Linked DNA regions of Homo sapiens: all the other regions are linked to region 4. Evidence: promoter capture Hi-C in 16 types of primary human blood cells and fetal thymus (Javierre and others, 2016). All regions are on one chromosome and are shown on one strand. Each heading gives the region's core, a stretch centred on a gene start or on the middle of the fragment in contact. The rest is flanking DNA. Distances are from core to core; before and after follow the strand shown.

Region 1 (2,740 bases), core at 73-2,572, 84 kb after region 4:
GATATTATCTCCGAATTATATAAGTGATTTTCTGGTCATGCACATACCAGTTGTTCTTACTCTATATAAATGTACTTTTTTGTTAAAATATAATCATTTAGTTTAAAATTGAGATATCCTTGTTACTGGAGAATTTCAAATATATTTAACAACAACAATAAAAAGCTTAAATATAAATAGCAAATGTGAGTAAGCATGGGATAATTGAATGGCTTTTTATATTTTTGGAAGTCAATTCCATCTTCATAGATTAATTCTTCCAGGTTTTAATTCACATTGAGTTCTAATGGCTGACACCATTTTTCCTCCTCTGTATCTTCTTCAGAATATGGACATCTTGGGTTGTTGTGAGAATGGAGTTACCAAAGTTATAATCAGTTAAACACTAAGCAAAGTGTTATGGCAAAGTGTAGTCAAGTGCATTTCCTGTCAGATGGTCAACACCTTAAGTGCTTGAGGTTGAAGAGAATTGTTTTCATCTCTGTTGATAGGAAGAACCAATGATGTGATCCCTGGATACTGGCAATTGTTGCCCAAGAAAACCTCTCCCCTTGCTGTGGGACTGCTGGGCACCCAAATAATGCACCCAAATAATTTGATAGCTCTTGTTACACAGCTCTTCTTGGACTAAAAGGCCCTCAGCATTCCTGTCAATTTCTACACTCCTGAAGCTTCATCTGGTAATTCCCTGACTTATGCAGTACCACCCCACTCCTAGAGTGTCTTTAGAGGTGTTTGCTTTCTTCTTAAAGCTATTATCCTCTTGTTCTTCGAGGGCTTATTCTTAGGGGACTTGGAGGGCTTATTAAGCCCTAAGACTCAATCATTAGCAACCAAAAAATTAACTTCTACTCTCCCAAGGTCAGGGACAGCATAATCTTAAAATACAGTGGTTAGGGAAAATATTTGCATAACGTATTTTAAAGAATGCACAGGAAGGGAAGGCAAATATAGAGGAGGAAGATGATTTAAGAGAGTAGAGCAGAAAATATACAGCTGCCACAAAAATTTAGAATTGCAGAACCAGCTAAAGGTAGGTGTTTGTTCTGCTTACTAATAAAGCATACACCAAATACAATTATTTGGAAGCCTATAATTTTTTAGGGTAAAATTTTTTAGGTGTTCTTCTAGTCTTACCCCATTATTTTAAAGATGTAAAAACTGGATCCCAAAGAGGAGAAATGACTTGGTTAAGCTCACACAGAAACTAGAATCCTACATCCTTTGTATTGTATCAAATGCTTTTATGATTACCATATGCTGCCTTTTTAAGGCCTGTGATCTCCAGAGAGAGATTTCAGCTTTTTGATATGCCAAACTAAGGAATTCTTAGTTGGCCTTTTTTTTCTTCTTGAGTTTGTGCTTGCTTAACCTAATGAGTAGGTAATAACCCTGTGTTTCCGAATTTCTTAAATCAGACTTTTTGGGGGATGAAATTTTGTTAATGATTCTGTTAAGAAATAATGTCTTTTACACTTTCTCAGCTGAAAGGCAAGGGGATGCAGGATGGAGGTTAGAAATACACAGCTGCCATAGTCTAATTCTTATATAGATATTATTGAGTGATTAAATGATCAAGAAAACTGCCTACTGCTTCTCTTTACTTTTCTGTATTTAGCAGGAACATGACCTTTTCTTTTTGATCCATAATGAGAGAGATGAAGAGAATATGAGAGAATATATGAGAAATGAAAGTGTGCTAAGAATCCACATAATTAAACACCCAAACACTTAGTTTATCATTCAAGATCCTTCATGATCTTGCCAATCTATTTTCCCAACTATATCCCATATTATCTCCCTTTGCATACAGTTTAATCCATACACTAAATAACTTGCTATTCTTTAAATGCTTTGTTTTTCTACCTCTGCCTCTATTTTCATACTGCTTTCTCTACCTGACATTCTCTGTCCCCAAACTGTTGCTATTCAAATTTGACTTAGCTTGGGTTACCTGAGATATAGACACTGAGACAAGCTTTTAAGGTTGAGTAATTTGTTAGAGAGTAAAGGTAGGAGAATGATTAAGTGAAAGAATGAAAGAAAGTTTATTTTGGAAGAGCATGTTATCAAGACAGCTTTCAGTTCCAGGAAGCAACTGAAGCATAATCCCACAGGGAAAGCTCTTGAAGCCCAGACAAGCTATTCTGCCTTAAAGTTATCCTACCCAAGGGGTAAGGGAGCTAAGTATTTATACACCAACACTCTTCAGATATTGCTTGAGAGCTGCTCCTAGAGACATTAATTCCAGAAGCTTCCAACCTGTTGAACAGGTGGCAGAGTGAGTTTCAGCAGTGAGAGGACACCCTTAACAAAGAACTACTGGTGCTAGGAGTTGGAAGTTGGGCCAAAGGGAAACAGATGCTAACAGGGAGGTAATATGAGAGGCACTGACAGCATCTGCTACAAAACTGTCCCCAAAAGAAAAGATGGGATACAGCTGGTTATGCTGCAGTTAAAAAGCAACCAAGTATTAATGGCTTAATACCACAAAAGTTTATTTTTCACTTCTTGTTATCAGGAGACCTCTGTGGATTCTATAACTCAAAGACCCAGGCTGACGGCTGGTGGAATAGCTACCATCTCAAACATGGCGTGATGCTGCATCAGAGAGAAAAATAAGCTCTTGCATTGACAATGAAATGTCTACCCTGTAGTGACTTGTGCTTACTTCCACTCACAAGTGATTGCCCAGAGCTACTTACCTGGCTCCAATCTACCACTGGGTGTGTACTTGCAA
Region 2 (2,700 bases), core at 141-2,640, 100 kb after region 4:
CAAATAAATGAATGAATGAACAAATGTAACAAAATTAAATTTACCCAGTTACATAACTAACAAGTCCATGAGCACAAGACCAGTTTCATTGTCTTCTCTGCTAGTCTCTGCTTTTCTTCTCATTGCATTTTTAGTAACACAGACTTTTCTCTCATTTGTGGCTCAGGTTTCCTTCTTACTACTCTAGAAAGTATCACGGCTGACTTTTGGTCACTCTCATGGCTTGACTCAGATTCATCTTCATGGGTTTGAATCATTATTCTGGCCAAAGGGTTGTAATATTGGCATTATCCAGGTCTGAGTCACATGTTCATCTCAGAATCAGATGGTACGTTCAATTAGACTCAGACTGACATTGGGGAAGGGATATTTCCCCATTACAAAATTGAGGTGTTGTTTTCAAAAGAAGGAGAATGGATGTTATATAGGCAAAAGCCACAGCTATCTCTCAGAGATCCTCTTTTTAGTTTTATCCAAAATGGAGTCAATGGTTAAAACTATTGTACTAAAAATATTTTCTTATGTAATAATTCATTTCTTCATTTTATGTTCATCAACTGTCTTTCAAGACACAATAGTGATCCAATATAATTACAGATCAACCATCCATCCAACCAACCAACACAAAACCTGGATATTGTAGGTTGCATGTATAATTCTCTTGGACTTTCTGATAAATTGGAAATAGCTTTGGGCCCTTCAACCCTGTCCCTACTTTCTCTATCATCTTAGAAGCCTGGGCTGGAAACAGCTACTAACGTTTGCTTTAATACAGCTTTTTAAAGACCTAACTATGCATCAGAATCACCAGCTGTTATTAGAAAATACTGATATCCAGGCTCCATGCTCAGAGGTTCTTATTTCATTAACCTGTAGAAAGAATCAGGCATTGGAATATTTTTGAAAACACTCTAGTGAGTCTCATAGGCTGACAGGGTTGGGAACGTCTGTAAGAATTGCTCCCTTTGCAGTGACTTTAAGGGGCTCTGTGAATCAGGAAATACAAACAATGAACACAATTATACCTGCCATAGTTCCAGTCGGCAACTATTGACAGCTGCACAATTCCCTCCAGGTATACATATCCCCCTGTCCATCACACCTCTGCAAAACCCAGCAAACACAACTGTAATCACAATAGAGAAGTTCACAGAAAGGTTGACACCAAAGATGTGTTTTTCCTTTTGCTCATGTGCTAATTTTCTTTTCACATTTATAAACACTGAGTGGTTTATATTTTTGGCAGGGTTGTGCTTCTGAGTTAATATGCATTGTGAGTGCCAGTTAAGCAAAGTTTTCCCAAGAATTTAACATTGTTTGTGGTTTAGAGGTCACTCATAATGGCTTAAAGAGTTTAGCTGGAGTTTTGATCTTGCATTTTTTGCTTTTCCTACAGAATGCTACTATTTTTTCTTAATTAATTAAATATCTTTCTTTAGGAATGTACAGGGTGTACCATGAACAATTCTGACATGTGATTTAATCTATGTGGGACTACATTTTAAATACATTTGGGAAGGATTGAACAATGAAGTGGAGCCCATCAATATTGGTACTGAAAATGAGACAGTAAGTTGATATAGAGCAAAATCCACAGAAAATTTAGGAAACCACAGAATGCATGTGATATCTAAACTTAGATATCACATGTTATGTTTAATTATCTCCCAAATCATTAAAATATTGTGGGAATTTAATTATTCTGGAATATAAAAAATACATATTAAATTGTTTTCCTCTCAGTTGTACTTTAAATCATTATTTTAGGTTTGGAAAATCACAATAACATAAAAATAGAGCAAATAAGACTTGTAGGGAAATAAAATTCAGGAGTGATTCTCTGTTTTCACTTCAAAGAGATCATTGTTCTGTCTTATAGATTGTGAGAGGATTACAGGAAATTAAAGTTCTAGAGTAAATAAAACCATATTTGAATTTTCCCAATGTCACAGTTCAAACCCCACAACCTGGCACAGTTGACATTCTAATTGAGTCTATAAATTGAGTCAGCTTTTGGAATTGATGTATAAACTGAAAGATAACTCATGAATTGTAATTGTGTTTGATTTGAATTTTATTACTTTTGGCCAAAGGCATTACAAGATTTACACGGTAAGAAGGAGATACAGTATGGCCTCCAAAATGATTTATGAAAATTAAAATAGAACAAAGATAGAATGAGGTATTGAATGTATGAATTGGTAGTTATAGAGATGATATCTTAAAATAACTTACCAGGTCAATAACAATTGTTTCTTTCCTGATGTAGAGACCATTTGATATTTAGCTAGGTTATATACAATAATTCAGCCATGGAAATTAGCAAAATCTGAAGGTATAATGAGAAAAAGAATAAATATGAACATTAATTAAATCTCAGGCCCTGACTTAAAGGAGTAATTCTTCACTTGTTTAAGATACCTATGTGAGATGAATCATTCCACTAAAAATACACACTGTCTGAGAGTTCCAGTTGCTCCATATACTCACCAGCATTTGGTATTATCAATCTTTATAATTGTAGACATTTTAGTAGAAGTGTAGTGGCATTTCATCATCGTTCTAATTTGCATTTCCCTGATGACTAATGATATTGAGCATTTATTCAGATGCTTTTTTTGCCATATGTTTATCTTCTTTGAAGAAATATCTGTTCAAGTCTTTTGCCTATGTTTTCATTGGGTGTTTGAGTTCTTATCA
Region 3 (2,726 bases), core at 198-2,697, 120 kb after region 4:
TTAAAAATATATCTGAGAGGGTTTACAATCAGGTCCCCAACCCTCCTGAAATGGAGCCTTTTTGAGAAGCCAGTCATACATTAATTCTATTGAAATAAATGCTTTACTTGTTAGTGAAACAAAACAGTTTGAATTCACTAAGGTCACACTAAACCAGGCCTTTGCTCTGAAGTTAAAGGCTCTAAATAGATCAAAACATTCTTTGTAATGCCCTTGAGTGATCCATTTATTGCACTTAACTTTCTCATTACTTAAATGCAAAAGACTAAAGTTGAAGAGGCCAAAACATACATTTGGAAATTTCAGAAAACATAATAGACCGAGAGAGATAATGTAATACTTCTCCATGAAGAGGAGAGCTTGAATATCTCGATTACAGCTTCGCTATCCATCCCTCACACATTCAAATCCAATATATGTGCTTTTATTAATGCGTGAGTGCAGAGATATGCATAACTGAATATTGATAAGGCAGGATACTGTATATTTATGAGGTTTTATATGTTTTCTCTTTATGTTTTATTTGTATTTATATCCAGTGCTGCATACTGTATATATGTGTTTATAAGTGTAGCAGCTACGAAAAGAAATAAGATTTTAATCGATTTCATAATATTTTGCAACCACATATACACTACCATCTATTTCACTGAATGTGCATTGGTATTCGGAGGAGTATGACACTTTCTACTGGTCTCAGTGAGAACTGGTAATAAATATCTTAGTGCTTAAGTGAGATTCTATAAACAACCTTGTGTTATAATGCAGCCATATCCTTGAAATTTTACATGCATAAAAGTCAGAAATTTGGAGTTGTCATAGTAACATTAATTCTGGCCCTTTCCAAAAGTGCAGTATTTTGTCATATAGCATAAAATGTTAATGGTTGTGTCTCTGTGACTCGGCAATGAGACTGAGTTACATTTGCCATGGAAATCATAAGTTTGGAGAGCTTTACTGTCGACATTTAAAATCAGAGGCATAACATGTTGCGCTAAATTTCCTTAATTAAAAAAAAATACAAGACACAGTAACAAACTGGACAAAAGGGTAAAGAACGATGATTATTATTTTTGAAGTGAATTGAACAAATGGAAGAAATAAACAGGAAGATGTTAAAACATTTGTTGGGAAGAACTTAGTGACCCAGACGTATTTATTCAAATACAGTAGACATTTGAACAAAGGCTCCTGTATCAAGTTTGGTGCATTTTGCCATGAAGATACGAGTCTCTGTTCACCATAAGCAACATCTGGATAAAATCCTGCAGCAAACAAACAAGGCAGAATGTCATTTTTCTGTACCAAGGGATCTATAAGAAGGAAATAAATAGTTGTCTTTTGGGGACAGGTTAAAAAGTACCTGTCTGAGACAGATACCTGATTGGGAGTGGTTTTTAAAATGTCTTTTCTAGCTCTATGGTTCTATACTCTTTAATACAAGTGAATATTTCTCAGTGTATATATAAAAACTGAAGCTATGAGCCGGATGCAATGCTGATGTTCATTGCACAGATGAAGGTAAAGGAAGTCTGAGTTGTAGGACTCTCTGCTGGAAGCACAGGAAAGTCAGGAGTTGTGATGAGATGGGAGAAGAGAGATAAAAATGGCCTTGTGTCTCCTCTGGCTGTCTCTCTGCCAGTTCTAAGGATGATGGCAGCATCTTAGATAAAGGTACCTTGGCACTAGAACTAAAAAGTGGCTTTACATGAAACCAAAGTTAACCTAAGCATATGTGGTCTTTCAAATGTGCTTATAGTGGTTTTGGTTCCTATGCTAGTCACATCTCTTTTGAGACCAGTGATGACAGTATAATACTGTCTTCACTCTTTTTTGGAACCCAAGTCAACCTACCCCTCTGCTTGTCTCATACTCTTTGTCCTTCTAAAACTATTACTTCTCCTGGCAACTTTCATACATCTTTTACTATAGTTCCCATCTACACAAGAATGTTTAGCCAGAATTCTATGAGAATCTGTGATAATATTGATTAGAATCTATCCATATAGCAAAGTTTCCTCATTTGATAGAAAAAAAAAGCCATACATTTTAAATAAAACACTTTTCTTTTGTAAGTACTATATTCTCTTGAGTCTAGGAGGGCTGGCTATTTGAATTGGTATGTGCATGGTAAGTGGTAATTTCCCCCTTTCCCCTCCAAAGAAAACTGTTGTTACGTTGATGACACACCTTGTAATTGGGGGCATCCTAGAATTCAGGAAATAGAACCATTTCCATATCCTTCCTAGTCTGCTTTGCTGGATAACTTATGAATTAGACCACACATAATTTGAAAAGGATGTATTCTATTTATTTACATTCTGAAATAGTTCTGGTGCATGATGCTATGAATGTGATTGCAATTGTTATTTTAATTTTAGTTCACTCCTAAACCCATTGTGATTTGATTCTTCACCTATTACACTCTGGTAGGTATCAAAGGTCACACCTACCACCCAATATCCACCATCCATGGAAATGTCCTCATCTTTACACTTCCTTGTCTATTACATTTCTGCTGAAACCATTAACCACACTTCCTTTCTAAATTTTTTCTCCTCCTTAGCTTTCCTTAAGTTATTTTTCGTTTTTAGTTTTTTTTACCCACCTATTCTCATGCTTTCCTTTATAGCTCCTCTGCCTCCTCCCACTCTTAAATCTCACCTCTTTCTAGAATTTTTATGTGCTTTTCCTATTACCTACTGAATTATTTTACCACTCTCTGA
Region 4 (2,700 bases), core at 39-2,538:
TTCAAACTCCGGGCTCCAACTTGAGCGCCCCGGCGCCCGAGTAGCTCCCGGGATGCAGAAGTTGCCACAAACTTCCCAGGCCCCTCTTCGCCGATGCTTACAATCAGCCGCGCAGGCAGGGAGCGGAGGGAGGCGGAGATGGACCGGGAAAGGATGCTGAGCAGACTCGCGATCCGGTGGGGGAACATTACCACTCCCGCAGCCCACTCCTCCAGGCACCTTACTGCCCGCCCGGCTCCAGAACGCACCGAGAGGCTCCCCTTTTCCCCATTTGCTTCCTTCGGTCTTTTCCACTCCCCTTTCCTTTTCTAAAAGGGGCCATACCGGTGACCTGAAGGAGTTTGTTCAGCCAGGGTCTATTGGGCAGGTGTGGTGGTGTGTCCACACCCAGACAGAAAACGAATGGCATCTTCAAATCCCCCATCCCGACCGCTCTCCCCTACTCTACCAGCCCACCCCTCCAAGGTCCGTCTGCGTGAGAAAAGGGGCTCGGAAGACCGTTGAAGCCCTGCGCCCACGAGAGGGGAGCCCAGCCGCCCCAATAGGGGACGAGGAGTGGGTGCTACGGAGAAGTTTGGATTGATTCCGGAAAAAGAGGGACAGAGATAAAACAGCAAGAGTAGCAAGGGGAAAAGGGAGGCAAAAGAGCAGAACTCACTCAGGCATGGACGTTGGGGGCGGCGGTGGCTGTCGAGTGCGGGCCTGAAACCAAGAACGGCTCCCCGGGCGGGCGCGCCGGCGTCGGACTTCCGAGGCGGCGGCTTCTGCCTCTCCTGCCGCCGCCGCCGCCGCCGGAGCTGCGGCTGCCGCGGAAGTTAATTGCAACTTGACTTCAAGTTGTCCTCTTTCCCCATACGAAGTGGGCGTTTAAAGGGGAGAGCGAGGCGAGGAGCGAGCGAGCGAGCGCGCGGGGCCAAGGGAAGGAAGAGAAGGAGGGGGAGGGAGGAGATGTTAACGGGCGGGGGGGGGAGAAGGGGGAGGGGGCGGCGGCGGGGGCGGGAGGGGGAAGGGGCCGGCGGGAGCTGCTCTCGTCTCGTCGGTCGCGGCGCCTGCAGTCTGGAGGCGCACCGGAGCGGCCGGGGCGTCCCCCGCGGGAGCCCGCAGCCACCCGGGACGCGCATCCAGACGTGGCGCTTCGGACCGGGCACGCTGCGCCCGGGGGCTCGGCGGACCCCGCGTAGCCGCCGCTTCGGAGCTTGTGCGGCGCGGGCTGGCCAGCGGGGCGGCCAGGGCCCGGCCCGCCTCCCCAGCGCCCGCCCGGCTTCTCCCCCTGGCGGTGGGAGCCTCGGCGGCCGCTGGCGACACTAGGCGCACTGAAGCCCGAGCCGAGCCGAGCCCGAGCCGCCGCCGCCGCCGCCGCTGCTGCGCACCGCTCCCGGGCTCCCTCCCAGCGCGCCGGCCGGGGTGTGGGGGGCGGCGGGCCGGAGGGGCGAGGGCGGGCCAGGGGGCGCACACGGGGGTTGGCGCGGAAGACAGGACCCTCAGCCTCGAGGGGTAAGTGTGGGCGCTTGGGGGTGCGCTTGGGGTGCGCGGCGCGGTTCTCGTCGCCCGCCAACCCTGCCCCCTCACCTCTCCGGGGGCCCCCAACACGCGCACTCCTCCTCTTGTCGCCTGCGGCTTCCTCTTGTTGCTTGTTGTTTGGCTGGGTTTTGGGGGGTGAGTAGAGGGGGTTACTGTAGTGTGTGTGCAGGCGGAGGAGGAAGTCAGGTGAGAGGCCGCGAAGCACCCCCACCCCAACCCAGCCTGCGTGGGGTGTATGCTTCCCCACTAGGGGCATTTGGGCCATTTTTTTTTTCTCCGTCAATGTTCGGTCGAGACGATGTTTCCTAGAGGGCCTCCTTCACTTACAGTCTGGTCTGTCCATCTCCCTTCATCCCACCCTCGTCCGTCTTAGCCCCTTGTCCAGGAGCCCTGCACCCCAAGTGAGGAGCACGTGGCGGAAGGAGGAGGAGGCCCTCTCTTGAAGACCCCCACGCTGTGACCCAGCCCATTAGTTTAAATATTTATCCTCACATCACCAGCTGTACTTTTCAACCCACTGGAACAAGACGCCTAGGCAAGGTCCAATTTCCCCAAAAAGCTGGGGGCAAAGCGGGAGAGATGAGGGTTTTATTGACATTGGGAGAGAAGGGGCCAAGGAACCTTCCCAAGTGGAGACTGAAACTCAAAAAATCTCTACAAAAAGACTAGGGTGACTGGAGGCTCAGGACTGCAGGCTTAGGAGAAACTGGAGCTCCATCAACTTTATTTCTCTCCCCCTGCCTCTCCTCCCCCCAGCTCTGAGGAAGCTAACAGGTCTTTTGTTTTGTATTGTGTAGCCTTTGGGAAATTTGCATTGAGTATGTCAACAGAAAATTACTACTGTTTACTCAAAGGGATTGCAGAAAGATAAAACATAGTAACATAGTTTTTACTTTTCCTCTTCTTTGTACGCTTGTGTGTATTTGGCAAGAAGTGTAGTTAGGTTCATGGCATGAACTGCAAAACGTCAGGTTGTAACAATAAGGACTGTAGAGCTGCCTAGGTGTATTTTTAGAAGCCGCACTTTCTTGAATTCCTTTCACACAAGGCTTGCTCTCTCATTAAGTCCCCATAAATAATTTTATTTAGAGAGGAGGAAACTATGGAAGCAGGAGGGAGATTGCTAAGATTTCCATCCTGCCAGCGCACAGCACTGTTTGCAGGGAAGTTCCTGGAAAG

Evidence for each region. Contacts are between HindIII fragments. The CHiCAGO score rates a contact against its expected background, and 5 or more counts as called.
Region 1: a contact is called between a fragment that was not itself captured here and the fragment with the promoter of SATB1-AS1 in region 4, in 4 of 17 cell types (activated CD4 T cells, non-activated CD4 T cells, total CD4 T cells and 1 more). The highest score is 7.3, in activated CD4 T cells.
Region 2: a fragment that was not itself captured here is called in contact with the fragment with the promoter of SATB1-AS1 in region 4 in 6 of 17 cell types (activated CD4 T cells, total CD8 T cells, naive CD8 T cells and 3 more); the score reaches 9.8 in activated CD4 T cells.
Region 3: a fragment that was not itself captured here is called in contact with the fragment with the promoter of SATB1-AS1 in region 4 in 3 of 17 cell types (activated CD4 T cells, non-activated CD4 T cells and naive CD4 T cells); the score reaches 6.7 in activated CD4 T cells.

What each region holds. Positions count from the first base shown.
Region 1 is chr3:18,527,460-18,530,199 of GRCh38, forward strand. SATB1-AS1 (SATB1 antisense RNA 1) reads left to right here. Exons shown (of 7, transcript NR_125803.1): 7 at 2,522-2,655. Among named protein-coding and RNA genes, the nearest start is that of SATB1-AS1, 84 kb to the left of the region's middle. The HindIII fragment of the contact is 1,307 bases long and covers 670-1,976 here.
Region 2 is chr3:18,546,625-18,549,324 of GRCh38, forward strand. No RefSeq gene overlaps it. Among named protein-coding and RNA genes, the nearest start is that of SATB1-AS1, 100 kb to the left of the region's middle. The HindIII fragment of the contact is 3,106 bases long and covers 1-2,700 here.
Region 3 is chr3:18,565,726-18,568,451 of GRCh38, forward strand. No RefSeq gene overlaps it. Among named protein-coding and RNA genes, the nearest start is that of SATB1-AS1, 120 kb to the left of the region's middle. The HindIII fragment of the contact is 4,964 bases long and covers 1-2,726 here.
Region 4 is chr3:18,443,949-18,446,648 of GRCh38, forward strand. SATB1-AS1 (SATB1 antisense RNA 1) reads left to right here and starts at 1,289. Exons shown (of 7, transcript NR_125803.1): 1 at 1,289-1,494. It also overlaps a transcript of SATB1 not described here. RefSeq lists a silencer at 1,195-1,414. The HindIII fragment of the contact is 8,267 bases long and covers 1-2,700 here.